Regions from separate parts of the Homo sapiens genome. Here all the other regions are linked to region 1. The links are contacts of gene promoters, found by promoter capture Hi-C in blood cells and fetal thymus (Javierre and others, 2016). All regions are on one chromosome and are shown on one strand. The core of a region is centred on a gene start or on the middle of the fragment in contact, and the rest is flanking DNA. Distances in the headings are between cores, read along the strand shown. Region 1 holds the start of AKR1A1 (aldo-keto reductase family 1 member A1). Region 2 has its middle 1.8 kb from the start of POMGNT1. Region 3 has its middle 3.2 kb from the start of EIF2B3. Region 4 overlaps PTCH2 (patched 2). Region 5 overlaps ZSWIM5 (zinc finger SWIM-type containing 5).

What was found. Contacts are between HindIII fragments. The CHiCAGO score rates a contact against its expected background, and 5 or more counts as called.
Region 2: a contact is called between a fragment that was not itself captured here and the fragment with the promoter of AKR1A1 in region 1, in 1 of 17 cell types (fetal thymus). The highest score is 5.3, in fetal thymus.
Region 3: a contact is called between a fragment that was not itself captured here and the fragment with the promoter of AKR1A1 in region 1, in 5 of 17 cell types (activated CD4 T cells, naive B cells, fetal thymus and 2 more). The highest score is 7.3, in activated CD4 T cells.
Region 4: a fragment that was not itself captured here is called in contact with the fragment with the promoter of AKR1A1 in region 1 in 1 of 17 cell types (naive B cells); the score reaches 5.5 in naive B cells.
Region 5: a fragment that was not itself captured here is called in contact with the fragment with the promoter of AKR1A1 in region 1 in 9 of 17 cell types (fetal thymus, naive B cells, neutrophils and 6 more); the score reaches 12.4 in fetal thymus.

Annotation. Positions count from the first base shown.
Region 1 is chr1:45,549,410-45,552,109 of GRCh38, reverse strand. AKR1A1 (aldo-keto reductase family 1 member A1) reads right to left here and starts at 1,284. Exons shown (of 9, transcript NM_153326.3): 1 at 955-1,284. RefSeq lists enhancers at 812-1,031, 1,262-1,491, 1,542-1,601. The HindIII fragment of the contact is 4,529 bases long and covers 708-2,700 here.
Region 2 is chr1:46,198,902-46,201,601 of GRCh38, reverse strand. It overlaps a transcript of POMGNT1 not described here. Among named protein-coding and RNA genes, the nearest start is that of POMGNT1, 1.8 kb to the right of the region's middle. The HindIII fragment of the contact is 5,315 bases long and covers 1-2,700 here.
Region 3 is chr1:44,988,464-44,991,163 of GRCh38, reverse strand. It overlaps the pseudogene PPIAP35. Among named protein-coding and RNA genes, the nearest start is that of EIF2B3, 3.2 kb to the right of the region's middle. The HindIII fragment of the contact is 1,090 bases long and covers 833-1,922 here.
Region 4 is chr1:44,830,677-44,833,376 of GRCh38, reverse strand. It overlaps PTCH2 (patched 2), which reads left to right. Exons shown (of 22, transcript NM_003738.5): 3 at 1,036-1,225; 4 at 1,333-1,402; 5 at 1,580-1,671; 6 at 2,334-2,529. Among named protein-coding and RNA genes, the nearest start is that of PTCH2, 11 kb to the left of the region's middle. The HindIII fragment of the contact is 7,207 bases long and covers 1-2,700 here.
Region 5 is chr1:45,016,402-45,019,101 of GRCh38, reverse strand. It overlaps ZSWIM5 (zinc finger SWIM-type containing 5), which reads left to right. Exons shown (of 14, transcript NM_020883.2): 14 at 1-2,700. The coding sequence ends at 648. Among named protein-coding and RNA genes, the nearest start is that of UROD, 5.5 kb to the right of the region's middle. The HindIII fragment of the contact is 1,175 bases long and covers 832-2,006 here.

The DNA of each region.
Region 1 (2,700 bases), core at 35-2,534:
ATATATAAATTTCCCCCACAAACCTGGCTACTCCTTGAGGTCTGAGCCTGTCATCTGCCTGAACCCCTCACTCCTAGAGTACCTGTCCCATACATACATACATACATACATACATACATACATACATACAATGTACACAATACACACACCACACACACACAGCTTATGGGGGAGAGATCTTGACAGGTTGAGTTTGGCCAGCTGGAAGGACATTTGAGGAAGTCGCTGCCTCTGTCACCTTCTTCCTTTACCTGTTGGAAAACCTGAAAAGAATCCTCTTGGAGAATATCAAAGCACTTTACTATACTCGGCAAAAAATCCCAGTGGACCAGATAGAATCATACTGAGATTGCTCCTGTATTAAAGATAAGGAAACAGATCTTGGAAAAGTAACAGGCCTGCAGCCCTGAGTATGAACGATCTGAAGGGGAAGAGTTAATTAACAGTAGCCTCATCCAGTGAAGGTTCAGATCTGTGTCTTACTTTAACAGAGTTCTGGGGCAACAGAATAACATGTCAGACTTTCTCAGACCCAAAGCAGGTGTCTAAGTAAGAGAATTATCCCCACTTCTCCCCACTTCTGAGAACTATCCCTGCACCTGCATAAGAAAGCCGGAGCAGCTGGAAAAAGCACATAGGTGAGCAAACAAAAAGATGGCAATTAAAACTTGCAGATCACCTAGTATGCGCTGTGCGCCTTCAAAGCTTTATCTCAATTCTTGCTACAGTTCTAATGTAGGACCTCATTTTATTGCTGAGGAAACAGGTTCAGAGAAACTGGGAAGTTAGCAAGAGATCATACAGAGAAAAAGAAGAGCTCAAATCCGAAACCAAGTCTCGTCCCCTCCAGTGCTCTGCGCTCTCCACTCAACCCCAGGGGCTTACATTTCAGTAGTAAAGAATCGAGGCCATCTCCTCCGGGAGAAAGATAGGCCAGCAGCAAGAGAAACTCACCTTGGCACAAGCACAGAGCGTGAATAGGGTACTGTGGCCTGGGCTCAGTTCTGCACCCCGCCAGAGATCCAACGATCCTCAGCTTAAGTCTGGCGGTGAGGGGGAAGTTCCACCCGGAGGGAGGGGCAGGGGCCGGGCATAAAGGATCACGCGCAGGGTGGACCGCCTTCGCCGCCTCCCGAGGAAGGACCTGAAGGGGATGGAAAACAGAGCTGGGAGGTAGTACCGTCTCCACCTCTGGATCCTCGAGGTCGAACTGGCCGGAACTTGGTCACTCACTCCGCAGCGCGGGTTTGGAGAACTCCTGGGCACAATGAGGCAGGTGGCGCTGGCCACGTGGGCGGTGCAAGGGGCGGGGCCAGCCTCGCCTTTTGCTGGCCCACATTGCACCGCGCGCCTAGGCGCCGCCGCAGGCGCTTTTCCGGGGGAAGTAAGGTAGCAGATGCCACGTTGCAGGTTCTTCTGGTGTCGGCCCTCCGGATTCACAATGCCATCCGTGGCTCCATACTCTCCCTAAAGTCAGGTTGGCTGGATTCCCAAAGTTCACCTAAGTTGGCCCCGTTACATTTAGTTCAAGCAAACTGAGGCCCAGAGAGCAGCTGCAACACCAAGATTGGCCAGAATACAGAAGACCTCGCGTCTGCAGATCCAGGCGCTGGAAAGTGCCTGGTCCCCCTGTCTGGACCATAGACCCCGCCCAGCACGTTATGTGCCAGGCACTGTGCTTAACACTTAATAAACATGGTTTTATTGAATCTTCATAATAATCCTGGAAAAGGAATATTCCTTTTTTTTTTTTTTTTTTGAGACGGAATCTCGCTCTCGCCCAGGCTGGAGTGCAGTGGCGCGATCTTGGCTCACTGCAACCTCCGCCTCCCTGGTTCAAGCAATTCTCTGCCTCAGCCTCCCGAGTAGCTGGGATTACAGGCGCCCGATACCACGCCTGGCTAATTTTTTTGTATTTTTTAGTAGAGACGGGGTTTCGCCATCTTGGCCAGGCTGGTCTTGAACTCCTGACCTCGTGATCCACCCGCCCTGGACTCCCAAAGTGCTGGGATTACAGGAGTGAGCCACTGCGCCTGGCCGAAAAGGAATATTCTTTTATTTCGTACAAGCCTTTTTAAAAATCGTAGTATAGCATATATACAGAAAATACACCAGTCTTTTTTTTTTTCTTTTTCTTTTTTTCCTATTCTACATCCAGGAAGAAAGAAAATGTATAAATCTTAAATGTATACAGTTCTTTTTTTTAAATTATTTTTTGCAATGTAACTGCCATCCAGAGGAAGATATTACCAGCACACCATAAGCCTGTGAGGAAAGTATTCATAATCCATTTTACAGATTGGACAGACTCAGCAAGGTTAAGGCTATTTATAATTTTCCCAAAGTCACACAGGTATTAATTAAATGACACATCTGCGATTTGAAATAGTCTGTGCTGTTTGAGTGGAGAGGTGTCTTGCATGTATGTGTTTTCCTTGGCAGGGATGGGCAAGACACAGGGTTATCTCGGTTTGGCTCTGCTTTTCCCCACACCTTTACTCCCTGAGAGCAACTCTTCCCATTTCCCCACCCCCGTTATCCCCCACTGTCTCCCCAACATAAGTGATGTCCTGGTGGACCAAATGTCTAATGTATCAGGCCATCCTCATAAAAACAATCAGACTTGGCCGGGTGCGGTGGCTCACGCCTGTAATTCCAGCACTCTGGGAGGCCGAGGCAGGCGGATCACCTGAGGTCAGG
Region 2 (2,700 bases), core at 201-2,700, 650 kb before region 1:
TCAGCCTCCTGAGTAGCTGGGATTACAGGCACGTGCCACCATGCCCGACTAATTTTTGTATTTTTAGTAGAGACGGGGGTTTCACCATGTTGGTCAGGCTGGTCTCGAACTCTTGACCTCGTGATCTGCCTGCCTCAGCCTCCCAAAGTGCTGGGATTACAGGTGTGAGCCACTGCGCCCGGCCTGGCACTACATATTTCTATCACTCTTTTTAGTTCATCTAAGGTTACCTTTGTAATTAACTTTTTTTAAAATTTAGATAGAGTCTCGCTATGTTGCCCAGGCTGGTCTCGAACTCCTGGCCTCAAGCAATCCTCCCACCTTAGCCTCCCAAAGTGCTGGGATTACAGGCATGAGCCACCATGCCTGGCCTACCTTTATAATTTTAAGTAACATCATTTTCCTTGGTACTTTTTGATCCATGGAAGGGTTTTAAGTTAGAGATAGACAAAACATTTGTCTTTTTTTTTTGAGACAGAGTCCGGCTCTGTTGCCCAGGCTGGAGTGCAGTGGCACCATCTTGGCTCATTGCAACTTCTGCCTCCCAGGTTCAAGCCATTCTCCTGCCTCAGCCTCCTGAGTAACTGGAATTACAGGCACCTGCCACAACACCCAGCTAATTCTTGTATTTTTAGTAGAGACGGGGTTTCACCATGTTGGCCAGGCGGATCCATCCGCCTCAGGTGATCCACCCGCCTTGGCCTCCCAAAGTGCCGGGATTACAGGCATGAGCCACCGAACCCGGCAACATTTGCCTTAAAGAAAATCACTCTGGATTTTGCAAGGAGAAAAGGATAGGAGGAGTAAAAATCTAGAGTCAAGGAGACTGGCTGGAAAGCAAGAAACTGAAATGGCCTGCACTGGGGCTGATTGTGAGGTCAAAGAAGAATTAGACTAGAATGGAAGGCTCTTTAGGAGGTAAGACTGACAGGACTAGGTGACTGGTTACATTCATTTATAGTGGCATTCAATAAAAATTTGTTAAAAAATACAAATGAATGATTTCAACAAATGTTACGGAGAGCTTACTATGTGCCAGCCTTTGTGTGTGGTGTAGAGAATACAATGGTGAGCAAGACATACCTGGACTGGTCACTGGAGACAGACAAGGAGTCAAGGGTGACTCCCAGCTGTTTGGCCTGGTGCAGTTCACTGAGGAGGGGAACCCACAGGAAATCTAGGAGTGAAAGGAAATGATTCCAGAAGTTGTGCTGTTGCGTTAGAGGGGCCTGTGAAGATGTCCTGCTGGACATCAGGCAGCCTGGAGCTCAGGAAAGAGGTTAGAACTGCCAATGTCAGTTTGGGCATCTAGATTGGTAACAGAGGTCATGAGAGAATGAGATCATCCATGAAGAGTCAGTTTGAGGAGAAAAGAGGGTCAGGAAGGAACCCTGAGGGACATCTTTTAATTATTTATTTTTATTTTTTTATTTTTTGAGACGGAGTCTTGCTCTGTCACTCAGGCTGGAGTGCAGTGGTGCAATCTCAACTGCAACTTCTGTCTCCCAGGTTCAAGCGATTCTCCTGCTTCAGCCTCCTGAGTAGCTACGATTATAGGCGCCTGTCACCACGCCCAGCTAACTTTTGTATTTTTAGTAGAGACGGGGTTTCACCGCGTTGGGCAGGCTGGTCTCAAACTCCTGACCTCAACTGACCACCCCACCTCGGCCTCCCAACCTGCTGGGATTACGTGAGTCATGGTGCCCAGCCGGGACATCTTTTCAAATGTAATAAAATGTGTTGGGTTTTCTTCCATTCTTATACATACTTACTAGGAAAAATCATGTATTTCTTTAACTCCTAAGACAAGTACTGTTAACATTTCATTTTGGGGGATATTACCCCACCATTCAGGAAGCAGATGGAATACAGAAAGCTCAAAAAAATCTAACTGGTCTTCTGGCTTCCTCTGTCTGCTTCCAACCCATTCTCCACAAAAAAAGTAAAGGTTCTCTTAAAACAGAAATTGGATTATATTGCTCCCCTGCCTAAAACTGTTCTATGGCTATCCACTTCAAACAAGCATCAACATCACCTAGAAACTTCTCAGGAATGCAAAATCCCACCCTGCCCCAGACCACTGAATCTAAAACTCTAGGGATGGGGCCCAGCACCTCTGTTTTAAGAAGTCATCCAGGTGATTCTGACGCAAGCTAAAGTTTGAGAACCATTGTGTTAAGCTAACTGCTTTCTATGTATGATGTTATTTAAACCTGGCAATTCTTATGTATTGTTGCCAGCAGAGTGCAGTGGTTAAGAGCAGAATCTGGAGCTAGGCTGAGTTTCAATTCCACCTCTCCTAGCTTTGTGATATTAGGTCTTATTTCTTTATCTGCGACAGGGATAGTAATAGCGCCTATAGCCAGCACGGTGGCTCACTGCCCATAATCCCAGCACTTTGGGAGGCCAAGGCGGGCGGATCACTTGAGGTCAGAAGTTCAAGACCAGCCTGGCCAACATGGTGAAACCCCGTCTCTACTAAAAATATAAAAATTAGCTGGGTGTGGTGGCGCACGACCGTAGTCCCAGCTACTCAGGAGGCTGAGGCAGGAGAATCGCTTGAACCCAGAAGGCGGAGGTTGCAGCGAGCCGAGATGGTGCCACTGCACTCCAGCCTGGGCGACAGAGCGAGACTCCGTCTCAATTAAAAAAAAAACAATAATAATGATAATAGCGCCTACCTCATGGGGTTGTTGTGGA
Region 3 (2,700 bases), core at 128-2,627, 560 kb after region 1:
GATGAAATTGTTAGTGATATTAACAAATGTGATTTTAAAATATTGTATAATGAGTCAATGTTAGGAAGATCTGCATAACTCTGTGAACGAATATTTTACATATTATTTGTATACCAAGTTGCAAGGTCATGCATGGGTAAAATGTCCATTCAAAGTGCAAGTACTGTAACAAGGTACAAAATGTTCATTGATATAATTTCCGATTCTACATTGCAACAAACCTTTAACAAACTACCACTTATTGAATTTTGGTATAGTGTCAAAGAATACCTATAATTATCTGAAAAGGCTATTAAAAGCTCTATCTCTTACCAACTATGTATCTATGTGAAGTCACATTTTTATGATATAATTAAACCAAAATAATATATTACAATAATGGAAAAATCAAGCTGTTTTCTATTAAGCCAGACCCTAAAGAGACTATTCAAAAAGGTGAAACAATGGCATTCATCTCACTAAACTTTTTGTTTTGAAAATGTAGTTGGCCAGGCACAATGGCTCATGCCTGTAATCCCAGCACTTTGGGAGGTCAAGGCGGGCGGATCACCTGAGGTCAGGAGTTTGAGACTAGCCTGACCAACATGGAGAAACCCCGTCTCTACTATAAATACAAAATCAGCTGGGTGTGGTGGCGCATGCCTGTAAATTCCAGCTACTTGGGAGGCTGAGGCAGGAGAATCGCTTGAACCCGGGAGGCAGAGGTTGCAGTGAGCTGAGATCGTGCCATTGCACTCCAGCCTGGGCAACAAGAGCAAAACTCCGTGTCAAAAAAATAATTTTTTTTCGATATGGTAAATATTGATAAATATAATCCATATAAACAAAAGCTTTCTGGGGTCCTCAGTAATTTTTAAGTATGAAGAGTCTAGAGATGAAAAAGTTTGAGAATTGTTGCCCTCAGGGAATAATTTAAAGTGAGTTTAAACTGAAGCAATCTCTCAACTACTTTCCACAATAGAAGAGAAAACCCTCTAGTTCGTTGAAAAACATTTGCTAGTTTAAACATAAGGATTTGAAATGGATGGCAGATATGGGGCTGACTGCTCTTCTTACTTATAATTAGTTCTTACCTCAAACCCATGCTGTAATTTCCAAGTCTTGGTTGAGGTAATACCAAAGAGAGAATATCTCTGTGTTTCTATAGAGGGGTAGTCAGACTTCAGGCCTCCTGTGGCCAGATCAGTCAGTTCATGGCAAGGCAAAGATAGGCTGGTTTTAGGATATGAGTCCCCCCCTTTTTTTTTCAGGGTCTAAGCAGACCTCCTTCTGGAAAAAATGACAAGTCCTAATCATTAACTGCTGTATCTGCAACACCAAGCATCTAAGACACTGCTTGGCACATATTAGGCACTCAAGATATTGTTGAAGCCAGTCCTCCATGGCACATACCTGTAGTCCTAGCTACTTGGGAAGCTGAGGCAAGACGATCGTTGAGCCCAGGAGTTTGAGTCCAGCCTGGGCAGCATAAGCTGACCTCATTTCTAAAAATAAATGAATAAATATTGTTGAATGAAGTCAAGCTCCTTTATTTTTATTACAGAAATCATGCTCTACCTTTTAACTGGCAGGAAGCTAAAGCAACTCAAGATTTAAGAGATGAATCAGGCTGGGCACGGTGGCTCACGGCTGTGTCCCAGCACTTTGGGAGGTCGAGGCGAACAGATCACGAGGTCAGGAGTTCAAGACCATCCTGGCCTATCTGATGAAACCCCTTGTCTACTAAAAATACAAAAATTAGCCAGGCGTGGTGGCGCATGCCTGTAGTCCCAGCTACTCGGGAGGCTGACGCAGGAATCACTTGAACCCAGGAGGCAGAGGTTGCAGTGAGCCAAGATTGTGCCACTGAACTCCAGCCTGGTGACAGAGTGAGACTGTCTCAAAAAAAAAAAAAAATTAATTAATCGAAAAAAAAGGAAGCTTTCAAAAGATTAGGAAATTGCAGGAATGCATGGGAAAAAGAGAATGGCCATTGGTCCTGTTATCTAGTGCAACTTGATAAACCACTCCAAACCGTAGAGCTTAGAACAACAATTATTTTATTATCTATTCGTCATTTTTTAATATTTATTTTATTTACTTAGAGATCCTGTCTCTTTGTTACCCAGGCTGAAGTGCAGTGATACCATATTGGCTCACTGCCACCTCTGCCTCTTGGGCTCCAGCGATCCTCCTGCCTCAGCCTTCCAAGTAGCTGGAACCCCACAGCGCGGCACCACACCTGACTAATTTTTGTATTTTTAGTAGAGAGGGTGTTTCACTACGTTGCCCAGGCTAGTCTCGAACTCCTGGGCCCAAGGGATCCATCCGCCTCACTTCCTAAACTTCTGGGATTACAAGCGTGAGCCACCGCACCTGGCCTATTATTGTTTTGTTAAAAGCAGGGTCTCGGCTTTGCAAATGCAGCCACCGACGCCAGGAGCTCTGTACGATCAGCCATGGTTAACCCCACCGTGTTCGACATCGCTGTCGACGGCAAGCCCTTGGGCCGCGTGTCCTTCGAGCCGTTTGCAGACAAGGTTCCAAAGGCAGCAGAAAACTTTCGTGCTCTGAGCAATGTAGAGAAAGGATTTGGTTATAAAGGTTCCTGCTTTCACAGAATTATTCCAGGGTTTATGTGTCAGGGTGGTGACTTCACATGCCATAATGGCACTGGTGGCAAGTACACCTGCGGGGAGAAATTTGATGACGAGAGCTTCG
Region 4 (2,700 bases), core at 73-2,572, 720 kb after region 1:
TTTGGGTCCCAGCAGGCAGCAAAGACTAACAGGAGGAGACCCCCAGACAGGTGGAAACAGCGCAGGGTCTGAGATCAGACCAAATCCGCAAAGCCTCCAGAGGTAGATTTGGCCCTCACTCTTCCCCACATCATAGTTAGGTGATAGCCCCTCACAATGTCCCCACCTCCCCCAGGTCCCAGTTACAGAGCAGGAGCCTGTGGCCAGCATAACGCAGGACTGGAGGGGCGCTAAGATCCAGGACACTATGGCAGGCCTGGCGCCGGGAATCCCTGTGGTCTGGACAGTGAGGGCGGTGAAAAGGATCTGGACACCTCCCTCCCCTTGGCCCACTTTGATTTCACCCCTGCCAGGGTTCGTGAGCTGATTCCATGCACTTTCTGCCTGAGTGGGAGCAGCACACTGAATGACTGTCCCATCCTCCCTCTCCCCCACACCAACACAGGGCCCATTATTATCACCCATTATTATCAGACACTCCTATCCCTGCCCTCTCCTTAGGACACTTTGCAGAAAGGTGTGTGGATATAAATCACTGCCCAGAGCAACCTGAACTAAGAACCAGCCCTAGCCCTACACCTGTTCTTTTAGGAAACCCTCCTAGCAGCAGCCTCCCTATTGGCCCCTATTGGCCCTCCTTGTCCTCCCCACCAGAACAGAGAGGGACTGAGCGAGGGTTCCCTTACCAAGATGCCCCTACAACCCCCACAGCCCACGGCCAGCTCATGCTGATTGTCATTTTTAAGTTTACACCCAAAACCCAGCCAACCTGGTTCATGCTTAAGCCCTAGACCACACAAGAAATCCGCAGAGCCACACAACCGAGGCTTCTCCACTTCCCTGGCAGAGCTCCAGGACCCAGAAGCCTGGGGAGTCGGCCTGGGCCATGACCAGGCCCTCAGGGATAAGGCAGGGACTCCTCTCTGCCGCACCTCTCCCACTTGTCTGGGGAGGCCTCAGAGTTAGAAGCCCCCTTCCCAAGTTCTGACCCGCCTAGGCCCTTTCCCCCCCAGCTTTCTCTGTTTGCTCTGGCAGTGGGCAGCCGGGTGAGCCAGGAGCTGCATTACACCAAGGAGAAGCTGGGGGAGGAGGCTGCATACACCTCTCAGATGCTGATACAGACCGCACGCCAGGAGGGAGAGAACATCCTCACACCCGAAGCACTTGGCCTCCACCTCCAGGCAGCCCTCACTGCCAGTAAAGTCCAAGTATCACTCTATGGGAAGTGAGTCTGGCTGAGCCCCTGAGCAGCTGGGGGCGAGGCGTGCTGTGGGGGTTCTGGAGTGGGAATCCCCTTCTTCTGCTGATCTCCTATGCCCCTGGCTATTGCAGGTCCTGGGATTTGAACAAAATCTGCTACAAGTCAGGAGTTCCCCTTATTGAAAATGGAATGATTGAGCGGGTAAGTGTCCTGAGAGGGAGTAGAGGCAGAACTTTTTCTGTAGCGTGGGAGGACTCAGAGACCGAGCAAGCCCCACAGCCTGCAATCTGCCCCCTTAAAACTAAGGAGGGGGATTGCAGAGGGCATCCTACAAAGGTTGTGGGGCAGGACTGACGTGGCCCGGGGTATCCCTGGCAGATGATTGAGAAGCTGTTTCCGTGCGTGATCCTCACCCCCCTCGACTGCTTCTGGGAGGGAGCCAAACTCCAAGGGGGCTCCGCCTACCTGCCGTGAGTGCCACTCCTGGGGCCCTGCTTCATCTCCCGCTGGGGACTCTCCCAGCAGAAAGGAGGGGTCTGGGGAATGAGGATGATCAAAACCTTACCAAGGTCCTAATTACCTCCCAGGCCAGGAACAGAGAGCATGGGCTTCCCCAAGGCTCTCTCCACATCCTCCTTCTCTTTCCCTCTCAAGGAAGGAAGACCTGACTTATTTACACAAAACTAAACACAAAGATCTGTAAGATCTGAGCAAAGGAGAAAAAGATCCCCACAAAGAGGCTTTGCTGGGGGAAATTACCTAGGTGTTTGCTAAGCCATTGCCCAGGCCAGAAAGAAAACCTGCTACAGGCATGTGCCTGCTGGTTGTATATTAGAACCAAGCACACAGCTTGGTAAGGAACTCAGTGGGGCCTTTCTGGGCCCTTTCTATGTATTAGGTAACCCTGCCCTGATATTCGTCTCAGCCCCTTGTACTCTTCTACAGCTCACTGTAGCACCCTGGTGGGCCCATGCAGCCTGGCAGTTCTGAGAAGCTGAGGCTTGCACACCCTCCATATGGAAGGACAAATCGGCAGATAAGAGGAGGGTGGGGTACAGCATGGCGCCCCAGCAGCAGTTTGGAGCCTGGGTTTTCGTCCCTGACCCTCACCAACTATAGGCTTTTCCCTCAGCGGCCGCCCGGATATCCAGTGGACCAACCTGGATCCAGAGCAGCTGCTGGAGGAGCTGGGTCCCTTTGCCTCCCTTGAGGGCTTCCGGGAGCTGCTAGACAAGGCACAGGTGGGCCAGGCCTACGTGGGGCGGCCCTGTCTGCACCCTGATGACCTCCACTGCCCACCTAGTGCCCCCAACCATCACAGCAGGCAGGTGGGTTCCAACCAGGTCTGCCAGGGAAAGGCTGTTTTCCTTCCCTTTCCCTTCCTCATACTCCTGTGTTCTGGGGGAGCTGACTGCTCTGTGCCCTGACCCCCCACTTCCTGGCCATTATTACCCTGCTCCCACAGTGCCAGGCCCCCAATGTTCCATTCCCATTCAGTT
Region 5 (2,700 bases), core at 170-2,669, 530 kb after region 1:
ACACTCTGTGAGAAAGACCACATTGCCTTTGAGGCAGCCTACCAGATTGCCATTGATGCTGCTGCTGGTGGTATGACCCATTCACAGCTGTTCACCATCGCCCGCTACATGGAGCTCCGTGGCTACCCGCTACGTGCCTTCAAGCTGGCCTCATTGGCCATGAGCCATCTTAACCTGGCCTACAACCAGGATACTCACCCAGCCATCAATGATGTGCTCTGGGCTTGTGCTCTCAGCCACTCTCTGGGCAAGAATGAGCTGGCAGCTCTCATCCCCCTGGTGGTGAAGAGTGTGCACTGTGCCACAGTGCTTTCAGACATCTTACGACGCTGCACAGTGACTGCACCTGGCCTGGCCGGCATCCCAGGCCGCCGAAGCTCTGGAAAGCTCATGTCCACTGACAAAGCTCCATTGCGCCAGTTGCTGGATGCCACCATCAATGCCTATATCAACACTACACACTCACGCCTAACACACATCAGCCCTCGCCACTATGGAGAGTTCATTGAGTTTCTAAGCAAGGCTCGGGAGACCTTCCTGCTGCCCCAGGATGGCCACCTGCAGTTTGCCCAGTTCATCGACAACCTCAAACAGATCTACAAAGGCAAGAAAAAGTTGATGCTGCTGGTGCGAGAGCGCTTTGGCTGAGAGAGCAGATAGCTCACTGCCAGAGCAGCCTGGGTTCCCAGGTAGTATCAGGTCAGGCCAAGGGCACTGAAACATTTGTCCACCCTGAGAGAACTCTGAGCACCTGTGGATGAGGCCAAAGGACCACAGGGCTAAGGATGGGGAAAGTCCAGCTCTAGTCGATAATGCCTACCTTGGCAAGCTTCTGACTACAGCCTACTGTTCATGGAGGAGCTGGGCCCTGCAGATCGACCAGAAACCCCACAACATGCCACCTCATGCCCCTATATCCTGCGTGTCCTGAGCATTGGCCCTGTCTCCCTTGGCAAACACAGAACACTGTTCCATCTCAGGGATTGCTTAACCAGAGAAACAGACACATTTGTGGGACTGTAAATACTATATGTGTTGCTAATTATTGTAAACTTGTAACTATTTATAATTCTGCTTCTGATTTGATGGGCACTTGAAGTAGCTGTGGGTAGGAGGATATGCTTATTTTCTGAGGAGACTCACAACCATTTCTCAGGTTTCCCTTGCAGAGTGTTTGCTGGTAGCAGTGGAAGAGTGGGGGTGCCAAGGAGAAAAATGGCCAGTTAGGATCAACCCAAGTCTAGTCTATGCAGAATCCCCCACCTACAGACAGGGCATTTATAGTCCAGTGGTGAGTGAGGGACAGAGGCCAGGACTGGACTTAGACTTTTGCCTCACAAAACTGTGAGGACATTGAAGCTCCTGCCTCACACAGCCTCTTCAGGAGCCTGCTGAACACCTGAGAAACAAGTGCAGGGAGAAGATGAAGGTCTGGGAAGCCGCTGAGTTCATAATATTCATCTACTGTGGTCACCTTTGTGTTAGCAAGTGTGTGGTTTCATCTATAATTGTGTGTGTGTATCTTTATGGCTAAGTACATGTGTGTATGTACATAGATACATCTGTGCATGCCTGTTTGTGCACATATATATTTATGTGTATGTGTCAGTTCTATGGCTGTGTACCTGTTTGAATATGTGCACACTGGACTGTGAGTTTCTACGTGAGGATATACACATTTTGTGTACATGTGAGGATGCACATCTTTGTGCAAATGCACTCATGTTTGTGCATGTTTAGTATGTGTATCTGCGTACACGAGTGCATGTGTATAAACATGTTTGTATCCATGTGTATGCTTGTTATCCATGCATCTGTGTCTTTATATGTGTAACTGAGCGTATTTCTACATGTAGGGATGTCTGTGTATTCATGTTTGAGGATCTGCATCAATGTGTCCTTTTTGCCAGATTTCTCTTTCCCATTCCTCTTAAATCTCTCTCGCCAGCTAAACGTTTGTTCCCCATCTCTGTGCCTCCTCTATTCATTCTCTCACCAAACAAGCTTCTAAGCACCAATCTCCCTCTGCCATCAGATTGGCTGCTTTAGCTCCATAGTTCTCTTCTCGCCTCATACTTGCTTTCTTCCCCTGCCTTTCTACCTCAAGCTTCCTCGCCGGCTTTTGTCACAGTCTCATTGCTCGCTGACTTGGAGGCTAGGGCTGGTCTGCACTTAGCCTCTCCCTTCCTAATTTCTAGCCCTAGTGGGCAGTCCTGTCTTAGCCCTGGCTGACCTCCATAGTGTATCATGTTCCTGCTACCTTCCTGACCCCTGTGCTCAGCCTGGAATTGTTATAGGAGGTAGCAAGGGCACTCAGAAAAGTCAGTTGGAACCAGTGTCTTGGTGTTTACTGTTTCATGTCTTAGTTCCTGAGTTGGGGGTGGGGTTTGATAGGGAAGGGGTGGTATAGCTAGAATGTGAACTAAGAACTTCTCCATCTGCTTTACTTTTTCTTTCTTCGACAAACTGTCACCTTTTTTACTCCAAACTGACCAAGAAGTTGTATTTGCCATTTGTGGCTACTCAAGTCTTACTGTCCAGCCAAGGGCCCCTACGTCTCAGCCCAATGGGTTGGTTAAAAAAAAGAGAGAAGCCACTCTCATTTCTGTATCACAGTTGCCCTTTTTTAGCAAGTGTGTGAATTCACAGTGCTTTTCTATGAATAAATCATGGATCACATAAAAGATCATTTTTCTAAAA